Regions from separate parts of the Homo sapiens genome. Here all the other regions are linked to region 1. The links are contacts of gene promoters, found by promoter capture Hi-C in blood cells and fetal thymus (Javierre and others, 2016). All regions are on one chromosome and are shown on one strand. Each heading gives the region's core, a stretch centred on a gene start or on the middle of the fragment in contact. The rest is flanking DNA. Distances are from core to core; before and after follow the strand shown.

Region 1 (2,835 bases), core at 179-2,678:
CCCCCAGTCCTGCTGGGCTGGCGCTGGGCCAGGACTGTTTACAGGCTTACTCCCAGGCCTTAACTGCTTCGGTGATTTGTGGGAATAAACAGAAAAGCCTGAACAGAGAAAAACGGGGCGGCAAAGTGACTGCACAGGCCCTTTCCTCCCTCACGGAGAGCAAGCAGAACTGCTCTCAGCAAGCAATTAGGTAGGTCTCTACAGTCATGCAATTAGGATTTAGTGAAGAAAGTCATTAGTTTTAAAATAACTTAAGTTTAATTTCTGCAACGCTTTATTTGAAAACTGTGTCACAGCAGGTCAATTTACAACATGCAATAAAGAAAACACTCATATCAGCTGCCTCAAGTTATTACAAATTTTTGATGTGCATTAAATGAGTACACTGGGTTCCACCCCCGGCCTTTCCAACTGATACGCACGGTCTCCTCCTATAACAGTGTCAAATAATTCAACGCTCAATGTAAATACGAGATAATTTGCTTATGATTCCGTGGTGTGTTTTCGCAACGCCGGCAAACGCGGATCCCACCCCCGAGCGGGACCGGGCCCCGTCTCGGCCTGCTGGCGCCCTGCGGGCTGAGCCGAGCGGGTCCCGGGCAGCCCCCCGCCCTCCCGCGACCCCCCGGGCGCTCGCAGCGGCGACGACAAGCGCGGGGCCGCGGACCCCCGGCAGGGACGTTTTTCTGCAAACTCACAGCATTTGACAAAGTTACATAAACGGCGCCCGGCCGGCCCCGGCGCCCGCCCGCCCCCGCCCTCACTCCCGGCGGCCCGGAGCCCACCTGCTCGGGGGGCGCGGGCCCCGCACCGGGAGACGGCGCCGCTGCCTGCCGTGCCCACCCCCGCGCCCCCGCCCCGGCGGGCGAAGCCGCCTCGCGGCGCGGGTGGAAAGGTCCAGAAGGGGCCGGGCGGCCCTGGGGACCGGCGGGTCCCACGGCGCGCGGCCAGCGCTGGCCCCCGCCTCCCACGGCCGCGCGCGGGGCGGGTGTGGACCGGCGGCGTCCACCTGCCGCGGGCTCCAAGGCCTGCAGGCTGCGCGGGGCGCGGGGCGGGCGGCGGACAATGGCCCGCGGGCGCCGGGCCGGGGCTGCGCTTACCGCGGCGGGCGGCGGCGGCCGGCTCTAGCCCTGCTCCGGCGCTCCGCGCCGCATCTCCTCAGCCTGCGCCGCCACCCGCCGGCGCGCGGGCTCGGGCTCGGGCGGCGACAGCCGGGACGCGGCCACGGCGCCGCCGGGGGCCCAGGCTGGGAGGCTGTTCGGGCGGCGGCGGCGGCGGCGCGGGCGGGTGCGCGGGCTCGGGCTCGGGCTCGGGCGGCGGCGGGGACGGTGCTCCGCGGCGGCGGCCCCACAACCTCCCCTCCTCATTCACAAAAAATTGACCCACGTTGAACCATGATGCTTCTCCCCACTCCAGCGTCGAGCCAGGCGGCGATAGGCCACCCCGCACGCCCGTCAGCCGGCCCGGCCCCGCCCAGCCAGCCGGCGGCTCGCCAACCATTGGCTGCGGCAGCCTTGCGTCACCTCCCCTTGCGGGCCCCGCCCTCCCGCCTGGTTTCTAATGAAGAGCTCGTCAATTACGGCTCGGCCCCGCCTCCCGCCCGCCCGCCCCGGGCGCCTGGCCGGCCTTCCATTGGCCCGCTGAAACCTGCGCACAGCCCGTCTGCTCCCACCCCTCGCCCAGCGGCTGCTCAACCGCGGGGCCGGATGCCCTATGAGCGGCAGAGAGGCTCCACCCCTGCCCGCCTCCCCGCACGCGTCCTGGACCTCATTGGCTGCTGGAGCTGCCAATTCTAGAGGGTGGGGCGTACCAAAAGACGCTCCAGGCGCCAGCCGCTGGGTGCTTCGCGGTTGAGGAGGCGCAGGGACCGGGGGCCAGTAGTGGCCGTAAACACGGGCCCCGGCCGTGTCCGGTCGCACTCGGTAGCCCGCATGGCTGCCTAGCGGTCAGCACCGCATGTCTGCGAGCCTAATTCGCGCTTAGAGGGCACACAATGGGGTGCAGGCTAACGCGGGGAGCCGGCCAGGCCTCGCCGCGGCGTCCATCTTGGATACTGGCAGTGGGTCACGTGGTGCTGCGTGCGCACGGAGGCGCAGGGCGGCCCGGTCACTGAGTGCGCAGGCGCCGTGGGCCTCGCCCTGCCCCGCGGCGGGAACGCGGCCGTGAGGGTGTGGGGTGTAGGTCCGCCAGGCCTGCAACGGCTGCCGAGGGTCGTGGGATGCGCTCGCCGCGTCCCTGCTCAGGCGGAGGGAGCCCGGCCCGCCGCCAGGGTCTCGAGTCCGGGTCCAGGCAGGCGTGGAGGTGGCGGGAACGGCGCACCGCCCGGGTGGGCGTTGTTTTAAGGCCGCAGGGCTTGGGAGGCTTGTGTTGAGTTACAGGTCGGCCCGTAGATCCCCGGAAGCGCCTTTGGTTGCCAGCAGGTGTCGGCGAGGGTCTTCAGTGGCCACCCTCCTGGTGGTGATGTTTCCGTTTCTTTCCAACAGGAGTATGACAACTTTTCAACTTGAGTGCACACACTGTCCCCGGAATCCCGCGTTCCAGGGAGGAAGCGCCTTTGACAGCGCGCGCCGGTTCGTGGGGCCCGACGGCGTGGGCCTGTGGTTGCGGACCTGGCGGAGATGCGCGTTCGCTTCGATTGTAGGCCATTCCTTTTAGGAGCTGAGAAAGGATCCGTTTTTACAGCATTCTCGACCTGTGATTCTTGGTGGGGGAAACTAGTTATGTGGATAAAAATACAGTTAGCAAAATAAAAATGCCAATTTTACATTTCCTTAAATATCTCATTAATAATTAGAAAACTTTGGTCATTGCAAGAAATGCTTAGGCTAAACTTAG
Region 2 (2,835 bases), core at 175-2,674, 270 kb after region 1:
ACGGACACAGAACAATGGCATTGGTTCAGAAGACAGAGAATTTATATTTTCTTTTGGGTGCAGTAAAAATAGCCTGTGCATTCCCGGAACAGCAAGCACTGAAGATGACTGCTCAGGGCATTTTGTCTTGAAGAGAAACAAACAAACAAACTTGATTGTTGCCTGGTTGTCGAGACCCAAACAATCCCCCTCCCACCTCCGTTCATCACGGGGCCCCTGCCAACCTTTCTGTATAAGAGGGGCTTGCTTTTAGCTTCTCTATGGGAGAGCCAAGCCAGGTTGGGTGGCGTCTGCATGGGTTTTGGATGAAGACAATTTGCCCATTCCCAACTCTGGGACAGCTCGGCAATTCCTGCCTGGCGGGCAAGGGAGGAGCTCTCCAGAGAGTGTTGTCTTCCCTCAGCCAGACCCCTCGGTCTCCCTTCCCTCCTCCTCCAGCCAAGAGAAACAAACTCTGCAAAGGACCTGCTGACAACAGTGGTGAATGGGCTGCAACGGGTGGCAGTGCTCCTTGGCTGGGCCCCGCATGGCCCCTACCATGGCTTGCTCAGTAAACACAATGATTAGAGCACCCAGAGGGGCCCACAGGCCTGGGCATTTCCAGCATTTGAATGTCTCTTGAGTTTAAATCACTTCTCACCAAACTGGTCCAGGCCAAGGCCCCAGAAGAAGGGATGGGATTACATGGGTTTCCTAGTGCAGAGAAAAGCTGGTCCAGAGGGGTTGGCTGGCACACCCTGCCCACGTGCACCTTGGAAGGAGGATGAGTTGACACAGTGCATATGGGTAGGCAGTTTCCTTATACTCTGTACCTGATGAGGATAGGATAACGCTGCGGTCTCCACACATGCAAACAGACACGCATGTGTATGCACACACAGGCAGGCACACACCCTCAAACACACATACACTCACATGTATGTATACACACATGAGCACACCTCCACATGCACACACAGATGTGTATATACACTGGCATGCACACATCCTCAAACACATGCATATACTCACATGTATGGATACACACATGAGCACACCTCCACATGCACACACAGACATGCATACACACACACAGGCATGCACACACCCTGATATACATGCATATACTGACATATATGTATACACACAAGCACACCTCCACATGCACACTCACACACATGCACACACAGGCCTGCACACATGCTCTAACTTATGCACACACCTCAAATATGGAGAGGCTCTGGCTAAACACGACTGCCTAGAAAAGCCTTGAGCCTCACTGCAACTCAGGGTACACACAGAGCAGACGCCCCTGCTCTCCTTAGCGGTGCTTCCAGTTTCTGGATTATTGGGCAAAGGTTCAACCTTTGGCCTTTGGTATGGGAAGCCCTCACCTCTTCAGTGGCACATGAAGTCAACCAGACCACAGAGGTGAGATGACAGCAGCCATGTGCCATCAGCCACCTCCTGCCCTGCCCGACACCAAGACCTCTGGAGCCCTGGGGACGCCATCATGCTTTCCTGGGTGGACAAGCCCTCCCCAAAACCTCCCTCTTTCCCTGGAAATGGCTGCTGCAACACTACAGCCTCTCGCCCACTTTGCAACACCAGCTCCCAAACTCTAGGGGGATGCAGCACCTACAGAAATGTGTCTGAGTTCCTGACATGGGGGCCAGCTTCTAGAAGGGCCTGAGCCTGAGGGAGTCCCCTCTGTCTCCCAGCTCCTTCCTGGTACTCACAGATGGCCCCAATTATGAATGAACCCAGCTGGAGCATGGGCTGTAAGGGCTCTGCCCCAGGGGACGCAGGGTCCCTGGGAGGTGAAGCATCCACGGTTCTTCTTGAATTAGCAATCCGCAGTGAGCTGACAAGCAGGGCTCGCCACAAGGGGAAGGAGGGAACATCTGGGAGCTGTGTGCCCTGTGTGAGGGTGGCAACCAGAGAGGGGATGCCGGGAGGGTGATGAGGCTGGGCTGGGAAGCCTTCCCTCCCTCTAGTGCCCTGTGGGGCTGTCTCTGAAGAACACTGGGCAAGTTGGTCTCAGCCGGGGCCCCACAGGACACCAGGCAGCGCCCTCAGAGGAGGTGACTGAGTGTATGAAGGGCCCTGGTCAGAAGTGGGGGCAGAGTTAGAGAAATCTGGGGCTGAGAACAGTGACATGGCGGGGTGGTGAGAGCGACCTGTGGCCACCGTGGGAGAGGGATGCCAGGCAGGACTGAGGCCCTCAGCTCGTGGAGAGGATGCCGCTGCAAAGCTGCCACAGGTGAGGAGGGAGTTAGAGGATGAATGTGCCGCAGGCCCCTTTCCTGCTGCTTTTCTCTGGTGTCTGCCAGCCCAGCCAGGGCCAAGGATGCCGAGCATGGGGCACCCACCTCCCCAAGCAAGGCCAGAAGGTGGCTGTGCAGGAGCAGGTAAGGGACGCGGAGCCGGATGTGGAACTGGGCGGGAGGGCGAACATGAGACGAGTGAGGATGAAGAACTCGGGGATGGTGGCTCCTCGCTGGATGCCCAGCTCCATGCCCAACCCTGCTCCTGGCCTGTGCTGTAAGGAACTGCAGTTCCCCAGGCTCTGCCTCTGATTTCTGGATAGTTTCAGCCACGGAGGAACAGTTGGAAGATGATAAGACAGAAGAAGTTGAGGTGCCAGGACACTTCTCTTCCCTCTGCCTCATGTGCCGTCTCCTGCTGTAGCTGCATCTGCCTCCCGAGGGTCCTCTGGGTGGTCCTGGCTCCTGCTGACTACTCCAGGACTTAGGCTTAGAGGGCAGCCTTCTCCCTGCTCAGCTACCTCCTGCTAATGGAAAGTCTGGGTTGCATCACTGTCTTGTTTGGCATCTGAGCTCCTCCATGCCCTGG
Region 3 (2,835 bases), core at 228-2,727, 260 kb before region 1:
ACTCGGCCAGCCTGGGCGCCACTCCTCCCTGCCTTGCCACTCAGCTCCTGCGTCTCTGACATCTTTCCCACCTAGGGACTCCAAGCGTCCCCTGACTCCTCTCTAGCTTGCCAATGTCCCTCCCAGACTGTGGCACCACTTGGGGTCTGATGAAGGCAGGGGACCAGGGGTGCTGAGCTCTGCGGTCTGAGATGCCTGGTTCCCGTGATGCCTGGAAAAGTTCCCCGCTCTGTGGCTTTGGCCGGCCCTGCCATGCTGACCACGGGTGACGCTCCAGTCGGCCCTGACACATAGTTTGTTGGCCGACATCGTGTTGTGTATTTCTCAATACAAAATAAAAAATGTTAAGTCTCACTTAGCAACTATACCCACGTGCCCACGGCCTCTCAGCCACCCTCAGAGCACTGGCGACCACAGCGAGCTGGGCAGCAGGGATCCTGTCCACCTAGAGCACCTGCCATGCGTGGGCTTGTGCTGGGACACCATCTAGTGACATCTGCTCTGGAAGAGGTCAGGAGAAAGGACCAGGCTCAGGGCTGTCCCCGACGTGCCTGGAACTAGCGTGTTCATAATGAAAGGAGATGTCTGTGATGAGAGGAAGGCAGGAGAGTAACCTCCAACTGCGTCCTTTTTAGGATGGCTCACAGGCCACTTTCCCTCACCCCAAATTGGAAGGTGAAGAGTGAAGGGCAAGTGCAAAGTGGGGTCATTTCAAGCTCATCCGTCCCGAGTCCGACTCTAGCCGTAGGACACAGGACAAACGCTTCGCACTGACCTCCGCCGGGATGCTGGGGACGGCGGGCGCGATACCGTTCTCCGCGCTGACGCTCCCGGAGCTGTTGTTGGGTGAGCTGGGTCCGGAGCCTGGGGCGCTGCTGCACGCGGAGTCTGCGGAGGCAGAAATACCCTGGTGAGTGTTACTCCATGCGGAGGGAGGGCCGTGCTGACCTGTGGCCCGAATGCCCGGTGCCTTCCACGGACCTGCTCGTTAGCTTGCGACAGGCAGAAGTCCCAACAAAAAGAACATGGCCATGGTTTCAAAAAAGAAAGTATGATGCTGATTTCTGATTTTCCAGTTTTGCCACTGACTTCACTTTTTCTAGGACATGTACGTTACCAATTTTATACCTCGTTTGATTTTCAAGACAATTTTAAACACCAAAAAGATAAATCCTTAAACACTTATTAGTGACCTAACAACAGAAGACCAGAAAATGCAGAAGCTAAGTGACTTTGAAAAGCAAAAGGTCAGCTTTCCTGTGCTCACTATAAAAAGCTTAGTTCAAAATAAAGCAACCTACTATTAGTGTTCACTCTGAGCTGAATCCTCTCATTTTCCCTACATAGCAGCAAGCATCCAGGGGAAAATATAGCCAGTGTCTCCTGAGATCTATCCGTGCTACTGGAAAACACACGCTCGGACAGTCTTAGAGGATCTTTAACCATCGGTGCGGCTTGACCCTGGTTAATGAGACCAGGTTCCGCTCTGACTGAATGTGACTTCCAAAAGGGGCCACGTCCAATCCAAAGATCCCTTCACCTCTGAAGGGGTCTGCTGCTATTTTGGGCACACACATCCACCGTGGGAGGCCGCTGAGGCTCTCGATATTCACACAAGGATTTGTTTGGCTTGTCATATGTTTAGTTTAACGGCATTTTAACAATGGCATCATCTGGTTAAAGCTTTCCAAAGAAAACACAATGTGACCCATTTGCCTCGAGAACTCTAGGCGTCTGCTGTTCAGCAACGACTCTGGGTGCTCAGAACCTCGCCCCAACCTATATGCGCAGCGCATACAGGTCAGAAGGAAGGGACATGGTGGGGGCCCTGGAGGGGAGGTTAAGGGATGTTTTCCCCAAGCAGCCCCTCAACGGAGCCATCCCCAGCAAAGCCTCCTCCACGGTCTGCTTGCTGCCCGCGTCCTCCTGGAGCCCACGAGGACGCAGGTGCCCACTCATGCTGACTCACGTGGTATCCACGCCTGCTGGAGGTGGTGACTCTGCAAATATAGCCCCGAGCCACAGTGAGGAGGATGAGGAGGGTGGGGGAACAGGTAAAGCCACCCACAGCTCCCCCAACCTGGCAGACCTGATTCCAAACTTTGCCTTTATTAGCTCATCCATCTCTCAGTCACTGTTTGAGGAAGGTGCCATTATGACCCCGTTTCCCAGAAGAGGAGATGGAGGCATGGAGCAGCAACATCACTCGTCCCAGGCCACGTGGCTTGAGGGAACTGTCATGGGCGTCTGCATACCAGAGTTAACCCAGCTGGGTGGTGAAGGCGCACCTCCTCTGTTGACCACGCTGCCCACCAGGAACACCCTGGGAACATCTTGCCCTCAACAGCAGGGCAGTCTAAACCTCCCAAGGGCAAACCAGGGTGTCCACCCAGAAGCCCTACACCAGCCGCTCCCCATGGCTCTTGGAGCTCAAAAGAGTGTGGGGTCAGCTCACTGTCCTGGGCATTGAGCATGAATACAGGACTGGGTCCCGACCCTACCCCATCCTCTTTCTTTCCCTGGCCCTCTCACCCTCTCACTTCCACCAGACACTAACTCCAGAGGTAGGCTTCTCCCGCTGCCGAGGCCATGTTATTTGCACTGTGAGTGGGCATTCTGAGAATGCCACCTGGGCTGAGCCAGTGTTTGCATTTCACTCAAGAAAGCAGGACCCGCCTTCTCCAGGCCCCTCCAACTCTCCCATCTCTGCCCCACCTGCAGCCCACCGTAGCCCACCCTAGACCCCTGCTCTCTGATGTCAAGCTGTCTCCAGCTACACACCAAGATCCAGCAGATCTTCCCTGTAATGGGTGCCTCCCAGCTGTGTCGTCAGAT

What was found. The method cuts DNA at HindIII sites, captures the fragments that hold promoters and counts their contacts. A CHiCAGO score of 5 or more calls a contact.
Region 2: a contact is called between a fragment that was not itself captured here and the fragment with the promoter of HDAC4 in region 1, in 1 of 17 cell types (neutrophils). The highest score is 9.0, in neutrophils.
Region 3: a contact is called between a fragment that was not itself captured here and the fragment with the promoter of HDAC4 in region 1, in 11 of 17 cell types (naive CD8 T cells, naive CD4 T cells, activated CD4 T cells and 8 more). The highest score is 13.0, in naive CD8 T cells.

The regions. Positions count from the first base shown.
Region 1 is chr2:239,399,592-239,402,426 of GRCh38, forward strand. HDAC4 (histone deacetylase 4) reads right to left here and starts at 1,429. Exons shown (of 27, transcript NM_001378414.1): 1 at 1,387-1,429. It overlaps HDAC4-AS1 (HDAC4 antisense RNA 1), which reads left to right and starts at 1,845. Exons shown (of 2, transcript NR_135575.1): 1 at 1,845-1,945; 2 at 2,484-2,766. RefSeq lists silencers at 1,078-1,247, 1,258-1,697, 1,718-1,837, 2,108-2,377 and an enhancer at 2,508-2,637. The HindIII fragment of the contact is 12,493 bases long and covers 1-2,835 here.
Region 2 is chr2:239,667,870-239,670,704 of GRCh38, forward strand. No RefSeq gene overlaps it. Among named protein-coding and RNA genes, the nearest start is that of LINC02991, 91 kb to the left of the region's middle. The HindIII fragment of the contact is 7,126 bases long and covers 1-2,835 here.
Region 3 is chr2:239,138,909-239,141,743 of GRCh38, forward strand. It overlaps HDAC4 (histone deacetylase 4), which reads right to left. Exons shown (of 27, transcript NM_001378414.1): 9 at 776-888. Among named protein-coding and RNA genes, the nearest start is that of HDAC4-AS2, 53 kb to the right of the region's middle. The HindIII fragment of the contact is 407 bases long and covers 1,275-1,681 here.